Linked DNA regions of Homo sapiens: all the other regions are linked to region 1. The links are contacts of gene promoters, found by promoter capture Hi-C in blood cells and fetal thymus (Javierre and others, 2016). All regions are on one chromosome and are shown on one strand. Each heading gives the region's core, a stretch centred on a gene start or on the middle of the fragment in contact. The rest is flanking DNA. Distances are from core to core; before and after follow the strand shown. Region 1 holds the start of NDUFB6 (NADH:ubiquinone oxidoreductase subunit B6). Region 2 overlaps CAAP1 (caspase activity and apoptosis inhibitor 1). Region 3 overlaps C9orf72 (C9orf72-SMCR8 complex subunit).

What was found. Contacts are between HindIII fragments. The CHiCAGO score rates a contact against its expected background, and 5 or more counts as called.
Region 2: a fragment that was not itself captured here is called in contact with the fragment with the promoter of NDUFB6 in region 1 in 1 of 17 cell types (total CD4 T cells); the score reaches 8.4 in total CD4 T cells.
Region 3: a fragment that was not itself captured here is called in contact with the fragment with the promoter of NDUFB6 in region 1 in 1 of 17 cell types (non-activated CD4 T cells); the score reaches 6.4 in non-activated CD4 T cells.

Annotation. Positions count from the first base shown.
Region 1 is chr9:32,571,731-32,574,784 of GRCh38, reverse strand. It overlaps NDUFB6 (NADH:ubiquinone oxidoreductase subunit B6), which reads left to right and starts at 1,626. Exons shown (of 4, transcript NM_002493.5): 1 at 1,626-1,904. The coding sequence starts at 1,725. RefSeq lists enhancers at 1,219-1,268, 1,539-2,078. The HindIII fragment of the contact is 6,496 bases long and covers 1-2,766 here.
Region 2 is chr9:26,885,715-26,888,768 of GRCh38, reverse strand. It overlaps CAAP1 (caspase activity and apoptosis inhibitor 1), which reads left to right. Exons shown (of 6, transcript NM_024828.4): 2 at 1,256-1,456; 3 at 2,581-2,665. Among named protein-coding and RNA genes, the nearest start is that of CAAP1, 5.6 kb to the left of the region's middle. The HindIII fragment of the contact is 6,458 bases long and covers 1-3,054 here.
Region 3 is chr9:27,560,756-27,563,809 of GRCh38, reverse strand. It overlaps C9orf72 (C9orf72-SMCR8 complex subunit), which reads left to right. Exons shown (of 11, transcript NM_018325.5): 4 at 1,334-1,429; 5 at 2,161-2,225. Among named protein-coding and RNA genes, the nearest start is that of C9orf72, 11 kb to the left of the region's middle. The HindIII fragment of the contact is 8,318 bases long and covers 1-3,054 here.

The DNA.
Region 1 (3,054 bases), core at 377-2,876:
ACAGAAACAGCTTGATTGGCTACAGGTTGGCCTTTGCCTTATTTGAACATGGGCTGATCAGTTGACCACCTGTGATGATTGGCTGAGACTCAGTTATTTGTTACAGAAGTATATTCCTAAGTTAGGCTGTGAGTTAAATTGCATACTAAGTTGGGTTGCAGTTCATTATATAAGGACTCAAAATACGGAGACATCTTTAAGCTAAATTTAATTTCACAATATGAAATATTTACTTGGTTCTAAAGTCAAATTTATGAAGTAAGATGTTTCCAGAGATGTCTAGATTCTATCCCTGTCTCCTCTATCCTATTTATTTCCTCCACCATAGGTAGCATCTTTAAAAACCTCAATTGTTTTCATTCCCATTATTTTGAAAATTTAAGAAAATATGTATATATATTGAAATTACCACCATCTTTCTCTTTTTGGGTAAAAGCATACTGTACAAATTCCTATCCATTTTTTTTCCACTTTGTAATGTATTCTGGAGATCACACCACAGATGTATATAGAGTTCTTCCTTATTACTTTTGACGATTGTATTAGCATTTCATTGCTTTGTTGTGTGAAAGTTTTTGGGAAGCCACTGTTTTGGACTAGCTTCACGCACTAGGCCCCAGCAGACCAGACCAAACCAGAATGGAGTCGTTTGTGCTAAGTACCACACAATCAAACTGAACTTTGAAATGGGCCAGTTTCCCAAAAAATAGGAAATTCCCTTAAGTCTGAGTCAGTGAAACAAGGAAGTTTCTTCTGCTTTAACCCTAAAAGTAACTTTGAAACGATGAGTCCACTTTTTGTTCGGTTTCTGCTTTCTTCAGCCCCTATTTGCCAATAAAACCAACCGCCTCTGCTCAGCTGATCAGAACACTCATTCTACTTTATAGAATGAGGTGTTTTTTGATTCTAGAATCACGAATAAGAGTCAATTAAGATTTTTAAACTAATTCGTTGTAATGCTGTCTTTTGACTGTTGTACTACAATTTATTCAAGCAGTCCTTTATTTAGGAATTTGGGGGTAATTTCCAATATTTTGGTATTATGAATCGTGCTGAATAGTCGTGCATGCTCTTTCATATTTTCACCACACGTATTTTTGGGTGAAAGCATGAATTCATCTATGCAATTTTGCTAGATATTAAGCTACTCTTTTCACTATTCCTGTACAGATGGAGGGACAGATGAGACAGCTGCCCAGGGCACTTCAGCAGTTACTGGCATAGCTGGGATTTGAACTGGGATGTAACTATTTTCATACACTCTCTAGGTCATTCCAAGGTGGGAGAGGCAAGCAAATAATTTTGAATCTGGCCAGCATATTCACTGAAACATTTATGCTTATCCTTCCTCCTCCCAGCATACAAGTTCTTCCTTAGCAAAACCTCCAGTCCTCTAATTTAGCATACTTTCGTCTAATCTGTCACTTTCCTCAGGCCCCACAACTACGAGTACTCCTTGTCCCCACCCGGTCCTAATTTGGTCGGGTATAGCGGAGGTGGGCGTAGAGAGAACTGGAGGTGGAGACCTTTGTGCATGCCCACACACTGCTTTCCTCGCGAGGAATCTGGGGCCCTTGCAGAGGCGGAACCAGGATGTGACGTAATAACCGCGCGCGGCGCTCGGCGTTCCCGCAAGGTCGCTTTGCAGAGCGGGAGCGCGCTTAAGTAACTAGTCCGTAGTTCGAGGGTGCGCCGTGTCCTTTTGCGTTGGTACCAGCGGCGACATGACGGGGTACACTCCGGATGAGAAACTGCGGCTGCAGCAGCTGCGAGAGCTGAGAAGGCGATGGCTGAAGGACCAGGAGCTGAGCCCTCGGGAGCCGGTGCTGCCCCCACAGAAGATGGGGCCTATGGAGAAATTCTGGAATAAATTTTTGGAGAATAAATCCCCTTGGAGGAAAATGGTGAGTGACAGACCTCTCCGGTCCCCCCCAACACATCCCACTGCTGCCGGCAGCCTGAACACTGAACGTCCGCTCCCTGCAGCCACACCAAGGACTGATAACGCTCAGTGCTCTGGGACACTGGCCAGTCCCGAGAGTCCTCCTGGAGTCTCGGGAGGCAGGAGTCCAGGAATATGTATGGCTTTGAGAGAATCATGCCTTTTACTGTCAAGTACAGTGGACGGGGGCGAATTTTAATACTTAGGTTTTCCAGGACGCTGCACGTTTGGTTCTCTTTTGACTGTAGAAATCTTCCCTCAGAATAATAACCAAGGACTCGCTAGAATTAAAATTCTGTGATTTAAGTATTTGAGGACACTTGTCTGACTTTTAAGTGTGAGGTTCTAGAGACCAAGTAACACAGTATCCAACCACCAGAGGGCACAGCCAGCCCCTAGCTGATAGTACAGCCCCATGTGATCCCCGTAAAAGACAGGGTCCTGTTGGTATGCCTTGTGAGTCACATTCAAGAGCTACCTTTCTAAACTACCGTTCTGTACTTTTAACACAGTGTTTCATTAAAAAAATCGCATTTTGGGCTTTGAAGAAAATCACTCATTCAAGAACTTTATTTTCAAGGCCTCTGGGTATTTTCTTGAGGACTGTTATGGATGATAAACATCTCAGAATTGCTTTCAGTTACCTGCAACACTTACTGATGACAGGATAATAGTAGTAACAATACTACGTAACACACGGGTGCTTGCTGTGTGCTTGGCACTCTACTGGGGGTTTTACATGTGTTACTTCATTTCTTTATTCCTGTAAGGTAGATATTCCTAATCCTCATTTTAAATGTGAAGAAACTGAGGCCTACAAAGCTTCAGTGATTTGCTGGTGGTCAGGGAGCTAGGAATTGAATATGAGTTCATATTGTAATCAACATGTATCTGATTCTTACTGTGCTACAAAGTCTAGTGCAATAGAATTGTTGAAAATTTTTCTGAGAAAGTGATATTGGATACTTATTTATGGTGGTAAAATTCAACTCTTCTCCCACCCTTTGTATCCCTGACATTATCGGAATATTGGCAGTCACTGATTTAAAGTTGACATCCCATCCATCAGCAAGTGATATAAGGAAGTAAATAAATAATAATGTGTCGAAGTT
Region 2 (3,054 bases), core at 159-2,658, 5.7 Mb after region 1:
TTACATTTCTCTTGGGTATATATCTAGCAATGGAATTGCTGGGTCATATGGTAACTTTTTGAGGAACTGCCAAATTAGCTTCCAAAGTAGCTGCACAATTTTATATTCCTGCTAACAGTGTATGAGGATTCCAGTTTCTCTACATTATTACATTGTAAACTGTTAGAACAAGTGCTGATTCTTTTACTTTTTCAGTCTAATTATCATAGTGTTCATTAAAACTGACCCATTTTAAAACTGCTTTGTAAACAACTATCTGACCTCTGTGGTCAGGGAAGATTTTCCAGAGGAAATGACTGTTGAATTGTCTGAAGTATCTGAATTTGTTAATCTTGTGAATATAGTGTGATAGATAAAGGAGGGAGGAAAGACTGTCATAGGAAAATGGTATGCAAAAGCCCTGCTTCTATGAGCTGAAGGAAGGAGAATAGGTTACAGTCGAGTAATTCAAAGAAGATTGTGTCCTAAACACAAAGAATGAGCATGAAGGCCAGGTAGGCCATATTACCTTAGGAGCAATGGGAATTCATTGAAGAGTTTTAAACAAGAAGGATGAGTACGTATACATTTTATAAAATCCATTCTGCTAACAGTGTACAAAACAAAGAGACCTCAGATTAGATGCAGGGAGTCCCATTAAATGGCTATTGGTGTAACCCAGGCAAAAAATTGTGGTAGTTTGGAACAGAATTATGGCAGTAGATTTGGAGAGACTGGATAGAGTTGGGAGACAGAAAGTAAAATGGACAGAAATATCTTAAATTACTGAAATTACTTGGTTACTTTGATTATGATTATAAAGTTTTAAAAATGATGATAGCTCCTGGTACGTATGTTACTTTTCTGTATAATATTTGTGATTTGTAACATCTTTACTTCAATTTATTTATATGAATTTAAGTACAGTGATAATGCATACATAGAGCTTTTGGGTGAATGGCCTTTTAGGGGAAAATCCTAATTCTTCAAAAGTCTAAAATTTTAAGAAATTATTCAATATTTACTATACTTTTGTTTGTGTATCCTAAATATCTCTTCCCTTATAGCTACTCCTTGAGTTAATTGCAGTGTGGAGAGAAAAATCAAGTAATATTAAACAGATATTCTCTCCTATGGTTTTGATAAATAATTATGCAAAGAATTTGGGAATTTTTGATGAAGAAGAATTTATTAAATGAAAACGTATGATGTCATGTACGTATTCTTTATATTTTAAGTAGTATTGTTTAATGGTTCTTTATTCTTTTAACTTTAGGAAACTAAATATATTTTGCCAACTTTGGAAAAAGAATTATTCTTGGCAGAGCACAGTGACCTTGAAGAAGGTGGACTGGACCTGACTGTGTCATTGAAACCAGTTAGTTTCTATATATCAGACAAAAAAGAAATGCTTCAGCAGTGCTTCTGTATTATAGGAGAGAAAAAGTTACAGAAGATGCTTCCTGATGTGTTAAAGGTACTTCATTACACATCAGACTAGATACATATGTAGAAATACAGCCTTCTTTGTAGCAATTTTTTGTTTTACTTAATGCGGTTTTGTTTGTTTGTTTTTTTGAGACGGAGTCTTGCTCTGTCGCCCAGGCTGGAGTGTGGTGGCGTGATCTTGGCTCACTGCAACCTCCGCCTCCCGGGTTCAAGCAATTCTCTTGCCTCAGCCTCCTGAGTAGCTGGGACTACAGGCATGAACCACCATGCCCGGCTAATTTTTGGATTTTTAAGAGACGGGGTTTCACCGTGTTGGCCAGGCTGGTCTCGAACTCCTGACCTCGTGATCTGCCCACCTTGGCCTCCCAAGGTGTTGGAATTACAGGTGTGAGCCACCGTGCCTGGCGTTAATGCAGTTTTTAATTGGATGTTTACATCTAAAATAAGCTACTTGAAAAGATTTTGTAAAATAGAGAACCATAATATATTTGGTTCTTGGAGCCTTGTATATTTAAAAATTTGCCACGAAGAAATGTTTAGGCAAGAAATGTGTTGACTCTGTGGAGATAATTCTGTTAAATGCAGGGAATGATAGTAACTAAATTGGACATACAATCTTTATGGTGCTTTAAGAAATAATGTCACAATATGCTGCTGTGTAACAACAAACAGCAATGGTTAATAATAGCTTATATTTCATTAGATTCACAAGTATTTTTATTTATTTTTGAAAATTATTTAGGGAAATATTTGTTGTTTTAATTTTACAGTTGTAGAAATTGGCCTTGGTCACTAAAGTTAAGCCTGAGATCATATATCTAAAGATACAAGACTTGAATATTTAAACCTTTAGAATAATTACTTAACATAAATAGACTGCTTAAGAATAGCTGGGAAACTGACTCACTCTTTAGTTTTTTTCTTTGATAGTAAATACAAGTTTATGCATTCCCTTCAAATATGCAGTGTTCACATATTAACTGGCAGTTTTTCAGATTTCATCCCAGGAAAAGATGTATGTGAATCTACTTGAGGCTTTAATTTATTTTATTGTAAGATTTTGCTAACTTAAATTTTTATGATTGAAATTTTCCAGTTTACATTGGGGCTGTGTTACATAAATGCATTTTTTTAAAATGTCATTTCCTTTAGAACTGTTCAATAGAAGAAATTAAAAAACTATGCCAGGAACAGTTAGAGCTCCTGTCTGAAAAAAAAATTTTGAAGATTCTTGAGGGTAAGAATACATATTTTTACATTCTGGCAACTTCTTAGTTAATACTATATTCAGCATAAATCCTGAGGTATTCTTTCTCCTACTTGGATATTTAATTTCATTATTGGGTTGTTGTTGAAGAGTATTTTTACTTCTATTTGCACTAAAAAATATAGTTTACATATCAGAAAAGCGTTTCAAGAATAGACAATATATTGTTTTTCCAGGTCAAGTGTATATAGGTAAGAGTATAACTAATAAAATGAAATAAAAAATGTTTACCAAAAATCTGTAAAAAAATTAATTATTGGAAAGGCAAAGATTTCCCTTAAAATCTTTTTAATTTTCTGCTTTAGATTTTTTATAGTGTTTAGTCACCTATTGCATATTGTTTACTCTCTAATAAGACC
Region 3 (3,054 bases), core at 278-2,777, 5.0 Mb after region 1:
TTTAAAAACTAAAAACAGTGAATAGTTAGTTGTGGAGGTTACTAAAGGATGGTTTTTTTTTAAATAAAACTTTCAGCATTATGCAAATGGGCATATGGCTTAGGATAAAACTTCCAGAAGTAGCATCACATTTAAATTCTCAAGCAACTTAATAATATGGGGCTCTGAAAAACTGGTTAAGGTTACTCCAAAAATGGCCCTGGGTCTGACAAAGATTCTAACTTAAAGATGCTTATGAAGACTTTGAGTAAAATCATTTCATAAAATAAGTGAGGAAAAACAACTAGTATTAAATTCATCTTAAATAATGTATGATTTAAAAAATATGTTTAGCTAAAAATGCATAGTCATTTGACAATTTCATTTATATCTCAAAAAATTTACTTAACCAAGTTGGTCACAAAACTGATGAGACTGGTGGTGGTAGTGAATAAATGAGGGACCATCCATATTTGAGACACTTTACATTTGTGATGTGTTATACTGAATTTTCAGTTTGATTCTATAGACTACAAATTTCAAAATTACAATTTCAAGATGTAATAAGTAGTAATATCTTGAAATAGCTCTAAAGGGAATTTTTCTGTTTTATTGATTCTTAAAATATATGTGCTGATTTTGATTTGCATTTGGGTAGATTATACTTTTATGAGTATGGAGGTTAGGTATTGATTCAAGTTTTCCTTACCTATTTGGTAAGGATTTCAAAGTCTTTTTGTGCTTGGTTTTCCTCATTTTTAAATATGAAATATATTGATGACCTTTAACAAATTTTTTTTATCTCAAATTTTAAAGGAGATCTTTTCTAAAAGAGGCATGATGACTTAATCATTGCATGTAACAGTAAACGATAAACCAATGATTCCATACTCTCTAAAGAATAAAAGTGAGCTTTAGGGCCGGGCATGGTCAGAAATTTGACACCAACCTGGCCAACATGGCGAAACCCCGTCTCTACTAAAAATACAAAAATCAGCCGGGCATGGTGGCGGCACCTATAGTCCCAGCTACTTGGGAGGATGAGACAGGAGAGTCACTTGAACCTGGGAGGAGAGGTTGCAGTGAGCTGAGATCACGCCATTGCACTCCAGCCTGAGCAATGAAAGCAAAACTCCATCTCAAAAAAAAAAAAAGAAAAGAAAGAATAAAAGTGAGCTTTGGATTGCATATAAATCCTTTAGACATGTAGTAGACTTGTTTGATACTGTGTTTGAACAAATTACGAAGTATTTTCATCAAAGAATGTTATTGTTTGATGTTATTTTTATTTTTTATTGCCCAGCTTCTCTCATATTACGTGATTTTCTTCACTTCATGTCACTTTATTGTGCAGGGTCAGAGTATTATTCCAATGCTTACTGGAGAAGTGATTCCTGTAATGGAACTGCTTTCATCTATGAAATCACACAGTGTTCCTGAAGAAATAGATGTAAGTTTAAATGAGAGCAATTATACACTTTATGAGTTTTTTGGGGTTATAGTATTATTATGTATATTATTAATATTCTAATTTTAATAGTAAGGACTTTGTCATACATACTATTCACATACAGTATTAGCCACTTTAGCAAATAAGCACACACAAAATCCTGGATTTTATGGCAAAACAGAGGCATTTTTGATCAGTGATGACAAAATTAAATTCATTTTGTTTATTTCATTACTTTTATAATTCCTAAAAGTGGGAGGATCCCAGCTCTTATAGGAGCAATTAATATTTAATGTAGTGTCTTTTGAAACAAAACTGTGTGCCAAAGTAGTAACCATTAATGGAAGTTTACTTGTAGTCACAAATTTAGTTTCCTTAATCATTTGTTGAGGACGTTTTGAATCACACACTATGAGTGTTAAGAGATACCTTTAGGAAACTATTCTTGTTGTTTTCTGATTTTGTCATTTAGGTTAGTCTCCTGATTCTGACAGCTCAGAAGAGGAAGTTGTTCTTGTAAAAATTGTTTAACCTGCTTGACCAGCTTTCACATTTGTTCTTCTGAAGTTTATGGTAGTGCACAGAGATTGTTTTTTGGGGAGTCTTGATTCTCGGAAATGAAGGCAGTGTGTTATATTGAATCCAGACTTCCGAAAACTTGTATATTAAAAGTGTTATTTCAACACTATGTTACAGCCAGACTAATTTTTTTATTTTTTGATGCATTTTAGATAGCTGATACAGTACTCAATGATGATGATATTGGTGACAGCTGTCATGAAGGCTTTCTTCTCAAGTAAGAATTTTTCTTTTCATAAAAGCTGGATGAAGCAGATACCATCTTATGCTCACCTATGACAAGATTTGGAAGAAAGAAAATAACAGACTGTCTACTTAGATTGTTCTAGGGACATTACGTATTTGAACTGTTGCTTAAATTTGTGTTATTTTTCACTCATTATATTTCTATATATATTTGGTGTTATTCCATTTGCTATTTAAAGAAACCGAGTTTCCATCCCAGACAAGAAATCATGGCCCCTTGCTTGATTCTGGTTTCTTGTTTTACTTCTCATTAAAGCTAACAGAATCCTTTCATATTAAGTTGTACTGTAGATGAACTTAAGTTATTTAGGCGTAGAACAAAATTATTCATATTTATACTGATCTTTTTCCATCCAGCAGTGGAGTTTAGTACTTAAGAGTTTGTGCCCTTAAACCAGACTCCCTGGATTAATGCTGTGTACCCGTGGGCAAGGTGCCTGAATTCTCTATACACCTATTTCCTCATCTGTAAAATGGCAATAATAGTAATAGTACCTAATGTGTAGGGTTGTTATAAGCATTGAGTAAGATAAATAATATAAAGCACTTAGAACAGTGCCTGGAACATAAAAACACTTAATAATAGCTCATAGCTAACATTTCCTATTTACATTTCTTCTAGAAATAGCCAGTATTTGTTGAGTGCCTACATGTTAGTTCCTTTACTAGTTGCTTTACATGTATTATCTTATATTCTGTTTTAAAGTTTCTTCACAGTTACAGATTTTCATGAAATTTTACTTTTAATAAAAGAGAAGTAAAAGTATAAAGTATTCACTTTTATGTTCACAGTCTTTTCC